Linked DNA regions of Homo sapiens: region 1 is linked to region 2. Evidence: promoter capture Hi-C in 16 types of primary human blood cells and fetal thymus (Javierre and others, 2016). All regions are on one chromosome and are shown on one strand. Each heading gives the region's core, a stretch centred on a gene start or on the middle of the fragment in contact. The rest is flanking DNA. Distances are from core to core; before and after follow the strand shown.

Evidence for each region. Contacts are between HindIII fragments. The CHiCAGO score rates a contact against its expected background, and 5 or more counts as called.
Region 1: a contact is called between the fragment with the promoter of PRPF19 here and a fragment that was not itself captured in region 2, in 4 of 17 cell types (naive CD8 T cells, naive CD4 T cells, total CD8 T cells and 1 more). The highest score is 7.2, in naive CD8 T cells.

Annotation. Positions count from the first base shown.
Region 1 is chr11:60,903,634-60,908,440 of GRCh38, forward strand. It overlaps PRPF19 (pre-mRNA processing factor 19), which reads right to left and starts at 2,952. Exons shown (of 16, transcript NM_014502.5): 1 at 2,731-2,952; 2 at 79-228. The coding sequence starts at 2,749. It overlaps PRPF19-DT (PRPF19 divergent transcript), which reads left to right and starts at 3,146. Exons shown (of 2, transcript NR_186697.1): 1 at 3,146-3,210. RefSeq lists a silencer at 2,545-2,644 and enhancers at 2,584-3,171, 3,285-3,404. The HindIII fragment of the contact is 4,469 bases long and covers 1-4,309 here.
Region 2 is chr11:61,423,721-61,428,179 of GRCh38, forward strand. All of the region lies in intron 2 of CPSF7 (cleavage and polyadenylation specific factor 7), which reads right to left. Among named protein-coding and RNA genes, the nearest start is that of CPSF7, 4.0 kb to the right of the region's middle. The HindIII fragment of the contact is 2,618 bases long and covers 385-3,002 here.

The DNA.
Region 1 (4,807 bases), core at 1,702-4,201, 520 kb before region 2:
TCCAGTGCACTGGCACCACCTCCCATCCTCTCAGGCTCTGAGCTAAGATGGCCCTAGACTAAGGCAGCCAATAGGCACCTTTGATGTCGATGAGCTGCTCCTCGGAGAGAGGCTGGTTGTTGATGGGGTCGGTACCATTCTCCGCAATGTACTTCTCGATGAGCCGCCGCTCATAAACATGATTAGAGACAGGGGATACACATGGGTGCTCCGGCACTTCGTTAGAGACTGTAGAGAAAAGGCTGGTAGTGAGCTTGGAGTGAAGGCAATCTTGGGCCTAGAGGATTCCTCATCTGCTATTAGCCCCAACAAGACTAGGCATCCTCACACTCAACTAGCAGAAAGCAAGACATTTGACCCTAAGCCAGTTCTGTACTGGCCCCAGAATGCTTTCCAGCTATGGAACTACCTTTTCCTTTAGTCTCCTGACTGAGGAGATAGTCTCCTGACTATCTGACAATCATATAGTCAACAAATAATTATTAACAACTACTATGTGCCAAGCACCTAGAGAATAGCAGTCCATTATCACCACCTCATATCTGAACAATGATTGTGTACTCTATGAATACAGTTTACTCCATGACATGGAGATACACATGAAGCCATTCAAATCCCTGCCATCCATCTTAGTCTATAGCTCCAGACAGATTATCAAAGAAATTATAAAGTCTGAGAATACAGGAATAACAAACTCAGTTTCTCCTATTCTCTGACAAAACAAAATACTTCTGTGACCTCAGATGTGACCATCTGGGTGTCCTCCAATTCAATTCTGACACCAGGTACCTGGAGATAGTGTCAGATCATACAGGTTGAGGTCTCAGTCCCACCAGACTCCCCGCCCCTTCAGATGCCAATCGCAAGCCCCAGGTTGTTTGACCTGTTCTTCTGATCTACCAGCTGTAAATCAGGGTTCCCATGACCTCCTTTTTGGGTTCAATTAATTTGCAACAGTGACTCAAACAATTGTGGGAAACACTTATGTTTACCAGTTTATTGTAAAGGATATTACAAAGGATACAGATGAAGAGGAGCATAGGATGAGGTATGGGAGAAGTACAGAGCTTCCCATGCCTTCCCTGGGCACCCCACCCTCCAGGAACCCCCACATGTTCTGCTATACAGAAGCTCTTTGAATCCTGTCCTTTTGTATTTTTATGAAAACTTCATTACAAAGGCATGATTCAATAAATCACTGGTCACTAGTGACGACTTCAGTTCCTCTCATTTCCCCAGGTAAATGGGGGGTAGGACTGAAAATCCCAACCTTCTAATACCCTTTAGTCTTCCTAGGTGACCAGTCCCCATCCTGAAGCTATTGAGTCTACCAGCTACCAGTCAACTGATTAGCGTACAGACACTTATCACCTGGAAGATTCCAAGGAGCAAAGTGGCAATCGCTACAATAAAAATATTTAAAAATATTTACATGGCACATTTGCATGGCACATTTCTATGTGCCAAGCACAATTCTAGGCATACAGTACAGTAATTCATCTTCACAACAACCCGCAATAGAGGTATCATTTACACTCTTGCCTGCGTAGACTGTGCACCCCTTGAGGATAAGGATTACAGCTGGTCTCTCACTTCCAGTACAATGCAGATGCCCCCAGGGCACTCGGTAAACATCTAACAAATGAGTGAACCATGCCAGGAAGGATGGTGCTGGGGAACGTAAAAGAGAGCTTCCCGAAGATTGGAAGGAAACAATAAATGTGAAGGTACTTTGCGAGCTGTAATTTCTTCAAAGTGAGGGATTCCTTTTCCATCATTTCCCTTCCTTCTTCCCCCTCTTTGGATCAATGTACAGGTTCTGAGAAGAGAAGGAAGTGAATAGCAAAAGGGAGGGGAAACGAGTAATCTGATGAAACAACGAAAAGGGAAAGGAAAATGTCTGTACGTCATGATAAAATATCAAAGGGAAAGATAGTGGAAGGTATGAAAAAAGCATGGATTCAGGGTCCAAGATCCGTGTCACCTAACTACGTCACCCAGCTCTGCCACTGACTAGCTACGCATCCTTAGATAAGCCCCGCTCTTCCTGCGCCTTGCATCCTCATCTGCAAAACCAGGATCTTTATTTCTCCTTTAGGGAATTCTTGTGAGGATAAAATGAGATCATAGACTTGGAAGCGCGTTGTAAACCAATAAGGGCTTATAAATGTGCGCTGTTTTTATTAGTCATACAGTGTAAGGCTGGGAGCCAGATACCTGGCTGCCAGCCTTGCCTCTACCTCTAACTCATCATGTGACCTTTGCAAATTGCAAAAGCTCCGACTATCCGAGCGAGGCCTCGCAAAACATCCACTGCAATGCTCTCGATTTTGCAGATGGGGAAACCGAGGCCCAGAGCCTTGAGCCAATTCATAAAGCCAATGGGAGGCGGACCCTGGACAAGACCTCGAGTTTTCTGACTCCTACATTAAGGCTGCTTCCCTTGCACCAGCTCTCTCTGTCCAGACCTGTTTCCACTCTGTAGAATGAGGCGACCGGCCTCAGTAATGTCTGCGACAATAAACCTCAGGCACTATGTAAACTGCGGGGCACTGCGCAAATGCACCCCGCTCCGACGGGGGGGGCTCCGGTGCTGACAGGCCGCCGCTCGGCCTCCGGAGCGCCCCATTCCCGCCTCCACCCCGGCCCGGGCGCCGCAGCGGACCGCACACGCTCCCGCGCCGCTCTCTGGCCTCCTGAGACCCGCGCTTGGCCGCAGCCAACACTCACTGGAGCAGATTAGGGACATGGCGCCGTCACCGTGCTCCGAGGCGCCACACGCCGGGCTCCGGGACTAGCTTCTGAGCCTCCGCGAGCCACTTCCGGTCCCCCGCTGCTGCCGGGACTGCTCCGCGGCGAGCTGGGAGCCGCCAGCCGAGCGATGCTAGCGTAGCGCTTCACGTGGGAATGGGGACAGCCGCGCGCCACAGCCTTCAGCACCTAACGGAAATTGCCCTTTCCCAGAATGCAGCCGGGCAGGAAAGGGCCCGCCACGAACACTCGGTTATTTCCGGATTGACTCGGCTCGTTCCGTAAAGCGCCGGAGGATTGGCTGGGGCGTCGGGAGAGAGGAGGCTCGAAACTACATTTCCCATGACGCAGTGAGAATTTAAAACCAAAACAATTGGACAGCACTTGTTTTGACAACTGTGCGGCACTGTGCCACGGGACCCTGGTCTTTGAAACCTTGGCGTGCGCGAGAATTTCCCAGTGAGTTTGTTAAAATGCAGATTCCTCGGGTCTGCGTAGACAGACTGTGCCCCACGCTTTTCTAAGTCAGTTGTTTCTCGGGCTACCCTTTAAGAGACACTGCTGGATGGCCTGGTGAAGAAAATACAGAAACAGATGGGTACAAGAACTAAGAAAACGGCTAAGAAAGTGTTTTGGTCCTGACTACTACCATTTCGCTCTGTGATTTGGGGCAATTCACATTGCCCTTTCTTCTTTGTCAAAAGACAAAATCACAACAAACTTAGTTCAAAGATTTTTTTTTTCTTAAGAGACGGACTCTGGCAATGTTGCCCAGGCTGGAAGGCAGTGGCTATTCACAGGTGCGGTCATAGCAATCATGGCTATCACAGGTGCATCCTGGAACTCCTGGCCTCAAGTGATCCTTCTGCCTCAGCCTCCGGAGTAGCTGGGACTTAAGGTGCGATTCTATAGAATTGGGCAGTGCCTCATACTATAAAATATAATGGTTGTTCCAATGAGCTGAACAGGAGAACTTGGTTTTATAGACAGAAAAGGACTGAGGAAAACAGGAACAGAGAACAAAAAGCGGATTGGTCATTTGGTAATTTCAAAATTACTTTTCTTGTAAAGGTTAAAGTGGAGGGGACTTATCATGCCACCTAAAACTTGCCTGTTTGGGAATTTAGCTCCCCCCTACACACACACACACACACACACACACACACACACACATACACACTCAGAAGGTCGTAAAGATCTTCGTTTCAGCTTATTGGCGTGGAGCTTCAGCAGGACTAACTCTTTTTAGCTTGGTCTGTTAGGCCTAGCAGAAGAGCTCAGTCCAAACCAATGGCCTCCTATAAATTTCTTTATTTTGTATTTTGGATTTTGTATTTTCTATTTCTCTTCCAGCTCAGATAGTGTATGATTCTTTGTGGATATCTGTAAGATAAGATACTCTCAGGAATCATGCAAAAGACGTGGTGTGGACTGTAAGGTATCAAGACAAAAGGGCAGGATGAACAGGATGTGAGTGAGAGGGACTTTGACAGGTGGGCAGTATTCAGAGGAGAAGGAGAACGAAAGGCATTCCGGAAGAAGAAACAACGTAAGCAAAAGCTTGGAGAGAAAAATAAAAGTTACAGGTACAAAAGGCAATATGGCATAGTGGCCAAGAGCATGGACTCTGAAGTCAGACTGTGTGCTCAAATCCTAGCACCACTCAGGTGATTGGCAGTATGAACTTCTCTATGCCTTAGTTTCCTCATCTGTAAAACAGAGGGAGTGATGACAAGGGTAGAACTAACTCACTGAACTCTTATGAAGAGTTAATATGCAAAAGGGCATCTCATCTCTGTCTTGCACCAACAAAGTAACTTCCCACTTGTTCCTTGCTTCCAGCCTGGCCTCCTCCTCCTAATCTACTTTCCACAGAGCAGACAGTGATCCACTTTGAACGAAATATCTATTCATGTTATTCCCCAGGCATTTCATTCATCCAACAAATATTGATTGGGTGCTTCCTATGTGCCAAGCCCTATTGTAAAAACTGGAGATAGAAAAGGTCAACAAGAAAGACACAGTTTCTGCTGTCTTGGAGCTTACACTCTACTGT
Region 2 (4,459 bases), core at 444-2,943:
CTCCCTTAACTTTCTCCCTCCAATATCACGGCAATAACTGCTAATTCTGAAGTGATCTGAAGACGACTCACTAAAAAATTTACTCTTAGACCAGTCCTTGTATTATAAGAACCTTTGGAAACAATCTTTCAGTTTTTCAGTTTATCTGAAGTACAGTGGAAGAAAATGCACACTAAGAGAATAATCTTGGGTTGTTCTGATAGAGAAGGGGGAAGGATTCTACTTCCTAAAGCATATAAATAATTTCAAATATTAAAACACTCTAAGAAACCCACCAGGAGGGCTTAACCCTTGTAAAAACGTTAGAAAAAGAATATCAAGAGACAGTAAACTTTTAGGGGGCAACTTAACAACAAGAAATTAGTGAGGCAAATAAGCACAGGAAGCTTGTTCCATGTAGTCAAATCCATCAAAAAGGATTGTGCATAAAAAGGGTCAGCATGTAAAGAATGAGGAGAGAAGCTAACACTGGAGAGGACAGGGTGGATAATAAAGTAAGGTGAGGTCAGCTAGGGCTAATGAGTGGGAAAACATTTTGTGTGTAAGTAATCACTATAAAATATTTCATAGCTGTTACGTCTCAAACTATCCCAACTCTATAGACAAATCACTCTTCTATTCATGTACCAGGTATGGTGAGTTGCTCCTGTGGTTCAAGGTAGAGAAAGGATTTATATACATCACTTGATCCCATCCAATGCTCAAATCCTTAGAAAGCACTACTTCACACCAAGATTCTTCTTTTTTTCTGAGATAGAGTCTCACTTTGTCACCCAGGTTGAAGTGCAGTGGCGCAATCTTGGCTCACTGCAACCTCCGCCTCCTGGGTTCAAGTGATTCTCCTGCCTCAGCCTCCCGAGCAGCTGGAATTACAGGTGTGCACCACCACACCCAGCTAATTTTTGTATTTTTAGTAGAGATGGGGTTTCACCATGTTGGCCAGGCTGGTCTCTAACTCCGGACCTCAGGTGATCCTCCCACCTCAGCCTCTCAAAGTGCTGGGATTACAGGCGTAAGCCACTGCACCCAGCCTTCTTTTTTTTTAAATCAAGGATTTTCAAATGACACGTAAACAGAATAAGGAAACACATCATCTTGGATAATCGAATGGAACCAAACTGAGATTCCCTTCCATGCAGTATCTGTAATTCAGGTATATGTGTCTAAAATTTGTAATGTAAAAATGATCACTGAAAATTGAGTAGTGGACTAACATGCAGATTTGGACAGCTCAGAGACCAAATGCATCACCAGGAAACCCTTCGTACTATATGCTTAGGCAACCAATCCACTGTTTTAAGATCCCTTAAGAATAGGATAGACTAGATCCTGGAGAATCTTGGTATGGCTACCACTTTTAGAAACAAAAGGATTGAATGAATACAAAATTATCACAAGATTTAAATGGTCTCTCTGGGCCACAGAGCCTCAGTTCAAAGAAGCTGGTGGGAACTGCACAGGGCAGGTCTGTTGAGGGTTCTACTGAAGAAACAAGGTATCAAATTGTTTGGATTTTAATCCCCCAGCATCACAATTCATTTTACTTGTTCAGCTAGTAAGACAGAAACACAGTTAAGGGCCGGAGATTTTTCTCAGCGGATTTATGCAGTAATAGATTAAAGTAAAATCAAATTCTACAAATTAAGTGAAAAGTACATTTTACATGCACTGATGTTCAAAGTTTCATTCCAGGGAGATTAAACATGAAACATATATTTAATACTGAATAACTATCTCAAAGAATTTTGTGTTTAATGGCACAGAAAGAACTGTGACTGTCTCATGAAACTTCCTGCTTCCCTGTAAACAAAAGAGAACATGTGTGATTTTCAATTTAAATAAGATCTTCTCCACTTGTCTGCTCAGTGTTCCTAACCTCCACCCTCTTCTTCCTCATATCCCACTGAGGGAAGTAACTAGCCTAGGATTTATTTTTCTCAGAGCAACCAACTTGATACCATTGTTTCTTTTAATTGTAACCAAGGCTTAATCAAAAATTTTGGCTTTATAATGACCATTTCCACAGTTCCCACTTCACACCCTCCTTGTCCTTCACTGTACATTGTCGTTGTCCACCACCCCTACCCACCAGGAGTGGAATCTGTTTTGAGTACAGGGACCCACTTTTTTTTCCTTTTACCTCACTAGTCCTGGCACAGTGCTTAGCAAACACAAGTAGCTCAATAAATAAATACTTATTGATGGACATAAGGAAGAGAACTGGACACTGTGCAAAGCCTGTCTCAGTATGAAAAGCCAAAACTCCCAGCAGAGCAACTGATCTCAGTCACCTTTCCAGAGTTCTCCCTGGCCCAAGAGAGCCAATGTGAATCCCAGGACTCCCTGTGTTACAGGAATAAAGTAGCTCTGGCAAAAACAGGCTTTTGCAGCAAATGCTCTAAGAGATCAGGGAATAAGCACCATAGGGTTCCATCTAGGAAAAATATTAATTTTCCTTGAGGAGCAAAGTGCACATGAAGGGCTTCCTGTGCATGGGCCAGCTTGGGGCGAAATCAGTAACATTCTTAAAACATTCTAAAACACAATTTGTACTGGGTGCCTTCAGACTAAGCCAGCTTCTAACAATTCTAGCCAAAGTTTTTTTGTTTTTTTGTTTTTTAAATAATTTCTGTAGCTTCCAGATGACACTAACACTAACTTTGTCAAAAATAACTAATTGATATGTGTGTGGGGGGGAAGCACTCATCCCTCACCTTCCACAAAACATAAGATATTCAAAATTCACACTTTCTTCAGCTTGCCTAGTGTCAAATATTGCCCGTTGGATATATGTATCTATTAAAGTCCACATACTACCTTTAGCCTGTCTTAGACCCATAAAAAAGTCCTTTTTAACTGAGGAGACCAGAGAACAAACTATTGAGGCCAATAACTTATACTCTAACAAAGCAGTGACCACTGGACAATGAGTTCTGCGTATTTCTCAAAGTGAAATGAATGGCACTATTATCAATCCACAGATAAGAAATTAGAAGGGGAAAAGCTTTTCATTAATAACAAAGGTGGCTGGGTACGGCGGCTCACGCCTGTAATCCCAGCACTTTGGGAGGCCGAGGTGGGCAGATCACAAGGTCAAGAGATTGAGACCATCCTGGCCAACATGGTGAAACCCCGTCTCTACTAAAAATACAAAAATTAGCTGGGCATGGCGGTGCGCGCGCCTGTAGTCCCATCTACTCAGGAGGCTGAGGCAGGAGAATCATTTGAACCTGGGAAAAGGAGGTTGCAGCGAGCCAAGATGGTGCCACTGCTCTCCAGCCTGGCGACAAAGAGAGACTCTGTCTCAAAAAAAAAAAAAAAAAAAAAAAAAAGAGAAGAACTAAGGACCGCTCTTGTTATCTTGGTGGGGGAAAAACATAATCTGCAAAAAGTCTGAACTGGGCAGAGTGGCTCACACCTATAATCCCAACAGTTTGGGAGGCTGAAGTGGGAGAATCGCTTGAGCTCAGGAGTTGAGAGACCAGCCTAGGCAACACAGCAAGACTGTGTGTTTTTTTTTTTAAGGTATTAAAAGTCTGATTCAAATGAATATGGAAAACTCAGGAAAACAATGATTTTGTAACTAAATTAACATCTAGAACTTTTCTCTTTTATCCATAATTATTGGACTTATTTAAAACTAAAAAATTTTTTCGCCATGCACGGTGGCTCACGCCTGTAATCCCAACTTTGGGAGGCTAAGGCGGGCGGATCACAAGGTCAGGCATTCGAGACCAACCTGGCCAACATGGTGAAACCCCGTCTCTACTAAAATTACAAAAATTAGCCAGGTGAGGTGACCCACGCCTGTAGTCCCAGCTACTCAGGAGGCTGAGGCAGGAGAATCACTTTAACCTGGGAGGCAGAGGTTGCAGTGAGCCGAGATCGCGCCACTGCACTCCAGCCTGGGTGACAGAGAGAGACTCTGTCTCAAGAAAAAAAAAAAAAAAAAAGGAAAATTCATCTATTTAAGATAATCAGCAGCTATATTTAAAGGACCACAGTTAACCACAACAGAGACAAGAAACCTGCCATTAAAAAGTATAATTGGTGAAGCTGTATAATGGGTACAAGGTCATTACATTATTCTGCTTTTGTGTATGGTTTATAATTTCCATGTTATAAAACCATAATACATCAAAAAATAGATTTTCATGTAAACTTATGCCAAGTGAAAAATAAATGGCATGTATCCGCCTCTTCTGTTGCCTCATATCAAAGTCAGGGTCAAACCAGGGAACTTTCCCTTTCTAACCCATTCAATACATGCTCTTACCAGGTCCTTATGTGTACCCACTGGAAGATGCAAATGGGAAGAGCCAGCTTACTTACATAGAATGGTGCTGAAAATAACCCAGGCAAGATATTAGTACGTTTTCAATAGAAATTTTGGAACATTCTTGAGAATTGACCTCAAGACTGAAAAACTTAACTGCATGGAAGATTATTTCTTTGAGAG